Linked DNA regions of Homo sapiens: region 2 is linked to region 1. Evidence: promoter capture Hi-C in human tissues and cell types (Jung and others, 2019). All regions are on one chromosome and are shown on one strand. The core of a region is centred on a gene start or on the middle of the fragment in contact, and the rest is flanking DNA. Distances in the headings are between cores, read along the strand shown. Region 1 holds the start of TAS2R60 (taste 2 receptor member 60). Region 2 overlaps CLCN1 (chloride voltage-gated channel 1).

Evidence for each region. Contacts are between HindIII fragments. The study calls those that stand out against the background at their distance.
Region 2: a contact is called between a fragment that was not itself captured here and the fragment with the promoter of TAS2R60 in region 1, in 2 of the 25 tissues and cell types used here (adrenal gland and ovary).

Annotation. Positions count from the first base shown.
Region 1 is chr7:143,440,859-143,447,755 of GRCh38, forward strand. It overlaps TAS2R60 (taste 2 receptor member 60), which reads left to right and starts at 2,595. Exons shown (of 1, transcript NM_177437.1): 1 at 2,595-3,551. The coding sequence starts at 2,595. The coding sequence ends at 3,551. The region is part of intron 2 of EPHA1-AS1 (EPHA1 antisense RNA 1); the gene reads left to right. The HindIII fragment of the contact is 10,403 bases long and covers 1-6,897 here.
Region 2 is chr7:143,333,075-143,339,087 of GRCh38, forward strand. The region is part of intron 12 of CLCN1 (chloride voltage-gated channel 1); the gene reads left to right. Among named protein-coding and RNA genes, the nearest start is that of CLCN1, 20 kb to the left of the region's middle. The HindIII fragment of the contact is 5,397 bases long and covers 1,719-6,013 here.

The DNA of each region.
Region 1 (6,897 bases), core at 1,345-3,844:
CAATTATGGGGCTGTTACTTCTCAACTCTTCTGAGAGATCTTGGGATGGGAATAGCAAGATCCCTAACACATAGAGCCACAGACTGGGAGTCACTTGTTGAGAGTACTGAGTTGAAGGTTTTCCATATAGAGAGCTAACTCAGGATCCCTATCCTACTACCCTCATGATTACATTTATAAAGACTGGTTATGAAAAGTTAAAAACTCTCAGACTTGACTTTTACCTAAGAAGATAAATCTAGACATGAGAAAGCCAAATGCAACAAACAAACAAACAAACAACAAACAACAAAAGAATCACCACGAAACACATTGCATATTTAAATTCAAATGATTATTCCCTCTTTTGGATTAACTTACTCTGCACATAGTATATGTCCAGTAAATGTTTGTGGTTTATGTTTAGCCCATAAAAGTGCTTTGAAGGCAGATATCTAATTCACTGTTGTAGCCCAATGTCTTTCAAAGGGTTATCATGGCATATAGGATATGCTTAATAAATTATTATTAAATGAATTGAAGGTTAAATGCACATCTTTATCATTGAAGGTGTGGGAGGTGGATGAAAAAGATTCAAGTTTTCCATATTGGGCGGTTTGTAGGTGGCCATACTCCAGAGCTATAAGCCCGAAGTTTGCCCCATTTCTCCAAGTTCCAGTAGAAAACAGCCAAATGTCAGCCAGAAGAACAAGGGCAAGGAAGAGAGCAGTTGGGAACTCTATCTCCTGGAAATTTGCATCTTCACAGAAAGGCAGAGTGAATTACCTTAGTTCATCTTATTTCCTTTACTCCGAAGACCTATGTCCACTATGGTTGGCGTATGTGTTAAAGAAACAATTCCACCTGGAAGTGGACTACTGGGAAGTAGACTGGGAACTGGGAAGAGATGCTGACATGCGTTCTATTCCCTTTTTGTGGGGGTCCTATATATGGAACTGGTAGGTTGTGGTGTCAGCAGATGTGTATTCATTACAAATCCCCTTACTGTCATGTTACTTGATCCTGAGCCTTCAATATTGCTGTATTTGACCCAGAACAATTCCTGCTTTCCTATCTCCCTGTGACACGTTAACCTACTTACACTCACCTGGGTGTTGATTGCTGATTTTTTTGACTCTTTGAAGCTGATTTCTATAAAGAATGTGGTCTTTTTTTTACTCTGTCCTTCTCTGGTTGATATCAGTGGTCTGACATTTGGTGCCCTGAACTTCTGTTGCATCCCTGATGCTCTCCTGAATTCTCCTTATGCTACTTATTATGCCACAGGATGGATGGAATAGAAGATAGCCATTCTAATAAAGTAATTGTCATCATCATCATTGCTCCTTGTCCATATGCAGAGGTTTATAATTTCCAATATATTTACCATATTTATGGTCATATTTATTTGTGACCCATATTTTTTATAGGTGAAGAAAGGGGGGTGTTCAGAGAGGTTAACTGCTTGAGGATCCGTAGTGATTGTGACAAGACTCAAAACTTGGGCTTCTGAGTTCAGCTAGGGATGAAGAAGATGGAGGTGTAACATGTATTGCTAACCATGGCAGAGATTCCTGGTCCTGGAATCAGTTTGGATCTTGGTCTTTCCTCTGTGTAACTGTGACTTTAGGTGGGAGTTGTAATATATAATTTGGGGTCTTATTTCTTTTATCTGTAAGATTATCTTTCATGTCTTCTTTCATTCTAAGCCGAGATTCTAAGACATCTTTGTGAATTAGAACATAGGATACTTTTCATATTTTACAGATGGACAAAATGAGGCGCAGAGGGGCTGACATATCCAGCAACTCACAGTAAGGGGTAAAGTTTGGACTAAAGGCTGTCTCGACTCCTAGCACAGGGCTCATTCTGCCATATCCCATTGGCTTATCGCTACTGGGGGTTCCTCTGTGAAGTGCTATTTTAGAGGCCACCAGTTATCAAATATATATTTTTAAATTTTGAAAAAAGTTGCCTGCCTCATTATGTATAATTGTCTCCAGTGTTCTTTTTTTATGATGATGGTCACTGTGAGTAATAAGACTTGAATTAATCCTTCTCTGTAAAGGTTTGCTCAGTTTTCTCTCTGTCTCAGTTAAAGGGGTCTTGCCATACTACTCCCCGCATAGAGTTGTTGTGAGAACTAAGGAGAGCACTCAGAACAATGCCTGCAACATAACAATCACCCCCCCCCCGTGGATGTGAGCGCTGTCTCAGTAGCGGGTGTGCCCCACGGATGATACTACTGAGCTGGCAGGTGCATGGTCCTGTCATAGGTGTCCGCTTAGAGAAGTATAACCTCCTGTGTAAGGACACTAAATGCCAGGGCCTGATATATTATCCACTTTGATGTTGACATGGGCAGAGAATAGGCAGAAGAGCAGGCAAATTTTTGGGCAGGTATGGGGACTTTGAAAATTGAGCCTTGACAATATTTGCATCTACTCTGAGAAGAAAAAACCTCTCACCCTCCTCTGATAGCCTGCGTCCTCTACTCTGGCCTAGCTTCTGCGCTTGGGGCAGCTGGAGGGACAAACATATCCTACAGGACCTTCCAGAGCAACCCAACAGAGATAGCCCTTGAAGTTTTGGGACCCATCTTGTCCACCAGAGAGATGAATGGAGACCACATGGTTCTAGGATCTTCGGTGACTGACAAGAAGGCCATCATCTTGGTTACCATTTTACTCCTTTTACGCCTGGTAGCAATAGCAGGCAATGGCTTCATCACTGCTGCTCTGGGCGTGGAGTGGGTGCTACGGAGAATGTTGTTGCCTTGTGATAAGTTATTGGTTAGCCTAGGGGCCTCTCGCTTCTGTCTGCAGTCAGTGGTAATGGGTAAGACCATTTATGTTTTCTTGCATCCGATGGCCTTCCCATACAACCCTGTACTGCAGTTTCTAGCTTTCCAGTGGGACTTCCTGAATGCTGCCACCTTATGGTCCTCTACCTGGCTCAGTGTCTTCTATTGTGTGAAAATTGCTACCTTCACCCACCCTGTCTTCTTCTGGCTAAAGCACAAGTTGTCTGGGTGGCTACCATGGATGCTCTTCAGCTCTGTAGGGCTCTCCAGCTTCACCACCATTCTATTTTTCATAGGCAACCACAGAATGTATCAGAACTATTTAAGGAACCATCTACAACCTTGGAATGTCACTGGCGATAGCATACGGAGCTACTGTGAGAAATTCTATCTCTTCCCTCTAAAAATGATTACTTGGACAATGCCCACTGCTGTCTTTTTCATTTGCATGATTTTGCTCATCACATCTCTGGGAAGACACAGGAAGAAGGCTCTCCTTACAACCTCAGGATTCCGAGAGCCCAGTGTGCAGGCACACATAAAGGCTCTGCTGGCTCTCCTCTCTTTTGCCATGCTCTTCATCTCATATTTCCTGTCACTGGTGTTCAGTGCTGCAGGTATTTTTCCACCTCTGGACTTTAAATTCTGGGTGTGGGAGTCAGTGATTTATCTGTGTGCAGCAGTTCACCCCATCATTCTGCTCTTCAGCAACTGCAGGCTGAGAGCTGTGCTGAAGAGTCGTCGTTCCTCAAGGTGTGGGACACCTTGAGCCACAGCTGATGAAAAACTTCAAGGAGATTCTTGTGGAGAAGGCATGGACTCAAAGGGACATAGCTTCTCTCTTTGCCACATTGAATGTTTTCTCTCTGTTGCTACAGTTAATGATTAGAAAAATAACTTCAATGAAATAGGATACAAGGTGAGAGTAAAGGTCCTGAAATATGGGCTAGTGTCATGTTATGTACTCACCAAGTGCATAGTTCATGTGGCCATGGTTCCTGTGGGACCTGATGTGGTCAAAGAATCCAGAAGCCTTTATTTTTCCTGTGATCGATCTCTTCGTATTTAAAATAATCATTCTGGGAACTGGATGCAAAGATCCTCAAACTTCATGCAATATTTTATCTGTTCAATCGAACTGGGGCATGTTTTTGGAACTGCAGTTTTCTCAGGCTTTGTCCTGTGAACCACCTTTCCCTTCTCATCAATTCAAAGTTTTCTGGCCATCTAATGTGGTGCCTCTCTCCTTCTTTCCATGGAAGAGTTTCTGGTGTCTAAACCTTCTACACAGAGCATAGTGTAATTGGTGCATGTGTGTGGCAGTGTGTGTTGCCAGGGATGTGTGTATTCTCCGATGACCTTTGGAGATCCCTCTGAGTGCCAGGGGTCTATGATTTGTATGTGGTTCATGTTCTCTATAATAGCCCAGCCTGTTAGTCTCCTCTGTATTTGTTAAGGTCTGTGGGTTCAGATGTAACTTCTTTTGATTGATATTGGGACCTATTGTAATTCCCCTACTGACATGGGGAAGTTTATCTGTATCTGTCTAAGACCTAAGATTTAAGAAGAAAAAGCCTTTGTGTTTGGTGAACCATGTTCAGACTGCCTTTCTGCTTTTCCCAGCTCCTCTCAAACGTTCTTTAAGTTCAGTTACTCCCTGAATCATTCAAACGAGACAACCCTCAAGTTTCCTCCATTCACTTTAAAATCTCTCCGCCTCCTTTCCTGGTTTTTACCTCCACCACACTCTACATTAGAGGACTGGTCTCTGTTTTTGGCTTTTCAAGGCTGACATCTGTGATCCTAGCCCTGCTCCTGCCTGTTTTCTCTCTGCTGCTAGGTCAAGGATTTCTACTTCTACACAAATCTTCCAACTTTCCCTCTTTATTGTCCTTCCCTTCTTCAACAAATGTGCCTCTAAACTTTTTTCCTGAAAACAATCCCCTTATCTGTCTCGCTCCTCCCCCTCCCTGTACCCCTGTGCTGCCAATGAGTCACTTGCAGGGTCTTCCCGTGTGCCTTCCAATCCTCTCCTGCTTCCCTGTTCTGCTGAAACATGTTTGTTTCTACAGGGACACACACGATCTCTTTGTCACTAAATGTGATATTGTCCCCAGCCCTTATCCTCCCATGTCTCTGTTGTATTTGCCTCTGTTGATAACAAATGATTTCCTTAAAATAAACTGATGAAAAATATTTTTACAAAAGTACTGCTGATCTTGGTGAAAGATTTTTTTAAAAGGGAAACTAAACCTCACCCATAATTGCCCATCTGCGCATCTTTCTAAAAGTTGTTCTCTTGGCGACGGATGCTAGGATCTTCTTCCAGTTCCCATCGCTTCTTTTTGTGTCCCCTTCACTAACCACTCATCCTCCTGCCTCTTGGTTCTGTCCTTAGCCAGCCCTCTTCTTCCTTTGAGATGATATCTGATCTCTTTCCTTTGTGTTTAAATCTACTCACATAGCTTCAATTATGCCCTTCATGTTGATAATTACCAAAGCCTTGACCTTTCTCTAAACTCCAATCCTATATTTTCTTCCACTAATTGGACATTACCACCTGATAGTACCATGAGCAAATTTAGCAAGTTCAAAGTATTTCCTTCTTCTTTATTTCCTCCTCCTCCTCCTCTACTTTTCCCTCCCTCCTCTTCCCACCAGCCCGTCCCCTGCTCAGATGAATCCATTCATCTATTACAGCTATTCAATAAATCAGGCTATCAACTTCTGAGTTAATTTTCACCCCCTTCTCTCTACTGAGCCCTTGTACCTAATAGGTAACCATTTTCAAATTTTACCCCTGTGATGTCCCCATCATCTGTCTCCTTCTTCCCATTCCTGATCCTTGTTGAGATTAGACTATCTTCCTCTCCCACCTGCACTGCTGAGATTTCTTCTTCACTACTTGCTTCATTTCATGGTTCACTACCACCGCAGTCAGAACTATCATTTCCAGATTAATCTCCTGAAGGTATATCACCCGAATCATCTCTCAGTGCCTTTTTTTTTTTTTTTTTAAGACAGAGTCTTGCTCTGTCACCCAAGCTGGAGTGCAGTGGCGTGATCTTGGCTCACTGCAACCTGATTTTGGTTCACTGCAAGCTCCACCTCCCGGGTTCAAGTGATTCTCTTGCCTCAGCCTCCTGAATAGCTGGAATTACGGTGCATACCACCATGTCCAACTAATTTTTGTATTTTTAGTAGAGACAGGGTTTTGCCATGTTGGTCAGGCTGGGCTTGAACTCCTGACCTCAAGTGACCTGCCTGCCTCAGCCTCTCAAAGTGCTGGGATTACGGGCATGAGCCACCACACCCAGCCTCTCAGTGCCTATTAAATGAAGCACAGGCCCCCTAAATGTGGCATTCAAGAACCTCCACAGTCTGGCAACAACTTTATCTTTCACTGCCATTCTAGTAGATCCTATTTTGCAGCAAATTTGGATTATTGTTCTGGGCATGCCTAAAACTTCCTCCCTGATATCCTGAGAAGCACTCCCTATTCCCCCATGTACCTGTCAAAAACCCTACTTAACATTTTTTTTCTGTTTAACTTTTATTAATTCAAATGGTGTCTCTTCAGTGAAGCTTTTCTGGATGCCCCCCAAGTCTTAAATCTCTTCCTCAGTTGTGACATTAGTCCTGCCTTTGACGCTGTTGTTTGCATAGTTGTCTCTTCCACCCTAGAAGATCTTAAACTTCTTAACGGCATGGGCTGCCTCATACTCTTCCATGCATCCTCTGAAGCACTTAACAAGTACTTGCGCTGAGCAGAATGGTTCTATAAGCTGGAATCCAGCTAGAATCACATGTACTTTTATCTGTACATTTATCTCTGGGGTACCTACTACATTTTTATGCCTATGTTTGAGCTTTCCCTTTACTGTCTGGCTGGCTTATCTTTTGGAAGTCACACTTTGACTTATGCACAATGTAGAAATAATAAATGGGTGAGTGAGAGAGTAAAATTTGCCTGATTTTATGATGTCTTTGACTTCTTTCTTGTACATTTGCCTGTTGCTAAGCAACTGAACAGCAGGCTTTCAGTCCTTCCTATGGGAAACTTAGTGGAGTGCCAGCTCTCCTCTTTGTTACTGACCCGATCTCCCTTTCCATAG
Region 2 (6,013 bases), core at 3,167-5,666, 110 kb before region 1:
GATCACTTGATGCCAGGAGTTGGAGACCAACATAGCCAACATAGCGAAACCCCATCTCTACCAAAAATTCAAAAAACTTAGCCAGGCATGGTGGCGCATGCCTGTAATCCCAGCTACTGGGGAGGCTGACGCAGGAGAATCACTTGAACCTGGGAAGTGGAGGTTGTAGTGAGCCAAGATCGTGCCATTGCACTCCAGCCTGGGTGACAGAGTGTGATTCTGTCTCAAAAAAAAAAAAAAAAATTATAGAGTTGTAAGTTGCTATAGAAGTAAACTAGTATCTGAGTTAATTGCTGTATTCACGTCAACTTAGTGTTGTCTGGCATAGTTATCTAACCCTTCTAATTGTTCTTCTTGTTAAATTACTAAGCTGTCACAGTAGCCAAGTAAAAAAGTACAAGATAGAGTTAAGCATTATAAATAACTGTAAAAGCCTTGGATTAATTAACCAAATTCCCCCACTTAGTAGATAATTAAGTATTTCATTCTCCATGTATCTGATGATCCATTTTTTAGGTGATTTGAGCATCTTTTTTCCCCCGGTTTTGTAGATAATCTCTTTTTTAGATCTTCAAAAGGGATAAAATATTTAAATTAATTGTATTAGTGACTACACATAATTTTTATACATGTTATTATTCTCTATTTAGGTGATGAAGCTGTGAGGATTTTGCCATTCCCAAACCATATTCTTCTAGCTTCAACTAGGCAATAAAAGATGATCTCTTTCACATCACTTCTTTTTCATATCTGCCCATCAAGGATTATGTATTTATAGACTTCTCAATTACTGCCTTGTAATAAGATATTTTTATTTCTACCCCTGGTTGTGACATCTATTACAATTGCTGATTGCTGGCCAGGTGCAGTGGCTGATGCCTATATTCCCAGCACTTTGGGAAGCCGAGAGAGGTGGGTCATCTGAGGTCAGGAGTTGGAGACTAGCCTGACCAACATGGTGAAACCCTGTCTCTACTAAAAACACAAAATTAACCAGGTGTGGTGGCACATGCCTGTAATCCCAGTTACTTGGGAGGCTGAGGCAGGAGAATTGCTTGAACCTAGGAGGCGGAGGTTGCAGTGAGCCAAGATTGTGCCATTGCACTCCAGCCTGGGCGACAAGGGCAACACTCCTCAAGAAAAAAAAAAAAATTATTGATTGCCCTTTTTTTTCTTTTGTGATGATTATCTTTTTTACTAATAGTATGTCTTGCCTAAATAACACAACACTTTCCTCTGTATATTAGAGTTCTCATTTATAAGTCTGTTCATACTGAACTTTCAAGCTTTTGAATACCTTGCTATTAACTTATTTATGATACCTTTTATAAATCTATGTTTTCCCAGGATATGAGTCACCAAGTTATATTTATATTGCAATAGCTACAGTGGGTTCATGAGTTCATTTGTTCAATAAATGTTATTAAGCATTTACTATGTGCCAAGTACATAATATTTCATCATTAACCTTTAGCTATATCTTATGCTTGCAACAGAAAAAAAATTTTTAAATATTTTAAAACGTTCTATTTTTTGCTGTTTATTTAATTTAATTTTTTAGTGATGTTAAGACTAGAGACAGCAGATACGTGAAACACCAGATTTCAACTCTGTAACATATTCCCAGGGTGTCTAGAAACTGTATTTGCAAATGATCTTCCCCATTCCACTTTAGGTGGTTTAGTTGAATCTACAGCATTCATATTTTGCACATTCACTTTATTAATTTAATCCCTTTAAAATGTCTTTCTTCAAAAGATTTTACATTTTTATCATGAAAGAAGTTTTCAGTGTCTTGTTAGGGATTTGATTTTTAGACTTTCATTATAGAGTTCATCTTCTCTAATTTATAAATCCCAACCTCCTATAATTAGTTGTTGAGTACACAAACCCATCTACAGTAACCAAGTACAAATTTTGGTGGATCTCAGAATTGGACGGTAGTCCAATGATGATAACTGTATTTTTCTGAGATTCCTCTAGACTGAGCTATACGGCAACATTGGCATCGTATGTACCTTTAAAATATCAAGATTTTGAAAAGTCCTGTAGAAACGAAATACTGTATATTTTTCAACATTTCTGCCAAACCTCATCCCAGCTCTCCAGATTCCCAAGTATATGTCTGGATTCCACTTCGCAAATTCAAGCTTATTTTGAGAAACCTACTTAGATGATATAGAGGACTCACCTGTATGCCACAATTATTAATTTCTCACTAGATTATATCCTTGATAATGTTACATCATACTGTATCAGGAAAAGAAACATATACTTCCTGGGCTATATTTCAAGCCTAACAGTTTGCAGCAGGCCTATAATATCCTATAATATTTACGAACATAAAACCATTCACTGCTACAAATCTATGATATTCCCTGGTTATCACCACTTCCCAGCATTTTCACTGTCTAATCATTGGACACAATAACCATACTCTTATTTTTTAGCTAGGTAGGATACATAGCTAAACTAAAATATAAACATGACTGAAACAATTTTTCCAGTGCCTAATTTGAAATGTAGTCTATGTGGTCTTCTAGCAGCATCTGTACAGGCAGGTAAGATTCTCAATTCAGCTGTTTTGTTTTTTTTTTTTTTTTGATTCGGAATCTCACTCTGTAGCCCAGGCTGGAGTGCAGTGGCACAATCTCGGCTCACTGCAAGCTCCGGCTCCCAGGTTCACGCCATTCTCCTGCCTCAGCCTTACCTGTAGCTGGGACTACAGGTGCCCGCCACCACGCCCAGCTAATTTTTTTGTATTTTTAGTAGAGACGGTGTTTCACCTTGTTAGCCAGGATGGTCTCGATCTCCTTGCCTCATGATCTGCCCGCCTCAGCCTCCCAAAGTGCTGGGATTACAGGCGTGAGCCACCGCACCTGGCCAATTCAGCTGTTTTATAATATTAATGAAGAGAACTTCCATCTTCCTTAATCTCATGACGTGGAAAGTGTCATTACATTATACATCAAGAGAAGAGCTTTTACAATGAGTATGAATACCATTCCAAATTCTCAGTTTGCTTTTAATAAGTCTAACATTGTTACCTAGTATCACTAAGTTCTCTGCACAGCCTGAGGCTCTGTTGAATTTTTTTTCACTCCTTTCACTTCATTCTCCCGAAGTGAATTCTTCATTTTACTCCTTCTAATGAAGGGTCTAAATATGGTGGAAACCCATAATGGGTTTCCAGTTTTCCAGTTCCCTGAAATTGAGTGTTTAAAATCGTGGTAGTTCTGTAGGTCTAGATCTGAAGAAAAAAAAAAAAAAGCTGGGTGTAATCCCAGCACTTTGGGAGGCCAAAGCAGGCGGATCACCTGAGGTCAAGAGTTTGAGACCAGCCTGGCCAACATGGCAAAACCCTGTCTCAACTAAAAATACAAAAATTACCTGGGCGTGGTGGCAGGCGCCTGTAATCCCAGCTCCTCGGGAGGCTGAGGCAGGAGAATTGCTTGAACGCGGGAGCCAGAGGTGGCAGTGAGCTGACACACCATTGCACTCCAGCCTGGGTGACAGAACAAGACTCTGTCAAAAAAAAAAAAAAAAAAAAAGAAGAAGAAGAAAAAAAAAGGAAGGAAGGAAGGGAAAGAAAGAAAGAAAGAGAAAGAAGAAAGTCTTGGGAGTTATTTGTGTTTCACATTACTTCTGGATCTTTTCTTTCACGTGCCAATAGCTAAAAAAGTTTGTTAATCTCATGTGTCAACCTTTGTGCTATAGGAGTTGATAACTTCAATGTCTTCTGATTGTAATACTGTTCTTACACATATCTTGGAGGATAATCTAAAATACATCTTCTGAAATCAGACCTATTGGTTACCTGTTATATGAATTGCTAGAGCTTTCAGATTAACCTGAGCCTACAAAATCTCTTATGGCTTTTATGTACTTATTTCAAAGAGATGGTACAGGATAGTTCAGTCCAACTGTTAAATGTCAGAATCACTTAAGAAGCTTAAATTACAAGTGCCTATAGCCCTATCTGCAGACAATCTGATGTGGTAGCTTCCAGTGGGGTCTGGTCATCTGCATTTTAAAGCAAGTTCCCCTGGATGAGCATTACTCTTTAGTGTTTTAGCAAATATTAGCTCTGAGAAGCTTTTCCTCCTTTGCATGAATACTATTTGTTCAGCCCATCTTCGTTCTTTCCTTCCTTCCTTTCTACCTACTCACCTAGCTACACCCTTCCTACATTTACTGAGCACTGTGCCAGTGCAGAGAGAAGGCAGAAAGGACAAGATGCACTCTCTGTCCTCAGGGGATTCTCAGTCTCTATTCTCTTCATTTTGCCCATTCATTTTTATAGTTCTCAACTGTTTTTGAATAGTCATATTCTGACATGAAGGAGTGTGTGTTTTGCCTCATCTCAGATCTTCTGGGATGAGACTTTCTTAGAGTCTTTGTCACTGTCTCCTGAGGTCAGCCCTGGATGAGGGGAGTTCTTTCTTTCTACGGTTCTGAAAATTAAGAAATATATTTCTCGTTAGCTTACAGTGCAATTGCGCACAGCTCTAAAATTGTGAATACTTTCATCTTGGCAGTTTGTCCTGAGCTTTAGCTGCTACCTTCTTACACCTAATAAGTTTGAGATCCATTTCTGAAATTGGTTTACTTATTTTGGAAGGGATATATAAACCTGTTGCTTTGCTTACATATGACATCTCATACTTCTATTTCTTTTACAGATATTTAAAAAGTTCCACAACTAGCCTTTTTTCCATTCTATTTCTCAATTCTTTTTTTTTTTTTTTTTTTTTTTTTTTTTTTTTTTTTGCGACAGAGTCTCGCTCTGTCGCCCAGGCTGGAGGGCAGTGGCATGATCTCAGCTCACTGCAAGCTCCAACTCCCGGGTTCACGCCATTCTCCTGCCTCAGCCTCCCAAGTAGCTGGGACTACAGGTGCCCACCACCATGCCTGGCTAATTTATTTTTTATTTTTTATTTTTTTATTTTTTAGTGGAGACAGGGTTTCACCATGTTAGCCAGAATGGTCTTGATCTCCTGACCTCGTGATCTGCCCACCTCTGCCTTCCAAAGTGCTGGGATTACAGGCGTGAGCCTCTGCACCCGGACAATTCTTTTGTACTCTTTGCCTCAAAATGCACATATTGCTTTTTGTAAAATGGTCTCAATTTCTATTGGAGTTCTAGCTTACAAAATTGGCCTTAGAGATTTTTTTTCTATCACATTGGCTGACTTATCAGGCTTTCTCAATTTACCCTTCCAGTAGCTAGCCAGGACAGATCTAAATTTTGATCCTTGTTTAAGGTGATCTGATCATTAAAGCAAGTGGCTCAGGCAGGTAAGTCTTCTCTCCAGGTTCTACTGTGAGTTTCACCATATAGATGGTTCTATGACCCCATTGAAGCTCAATTAATCACACAATAAGTCACTCAGACTTTAAATGTCTGACACTTAGAACTGGAGCTCCTTGGCCGGGCGCATCGGCTCACACCTGTAATCCCGGCACTTTGGGAGGTAGAGGCAGGCAGATTGCCTGAGGTCAGGAGTTCAAGACCAGCCGGGGCAACATGGCAAAACCCCGTCTCTACTAAAAATACAAAAAATTAGCTGGGCATGGTGGCGTGCGCCTATAGTCCCAGCTACTCAGGAGGCTGAGACAGGAAAATAGCTTGGACTTCAGAGGCGGAGGTTGCAGTGAGCCAAGATCATGGTACTGCACTCCAGCTTGGGTGCTGGGTGGCAGAGAGAGACCCTGTCTCAAAAAAAAAAAAAAAGAAAAAAAAAAAACCGGAGCGCCTTTTCAGAAATATAACCTGAGTAGGAAAAGTCTTCAAGAGTTTCAGGCTACTTTGCTGAGGCAAACTTTCTGGACTAAATGGGTACAATGGGCTGGGGCTCTTTTGGGGCAGAGAAAGATAAGTACTCCGGGGCTCCATTCCTTGTTCTAGATTGCTGAAAGGCAAATACAGGCACTCAAAGTAGAAGGGATTTGGTCTAGCCATCTAGAGGAACCTTCTGATAGTATTGTCTTTGGTGATCTCTTAGCCTGAGAG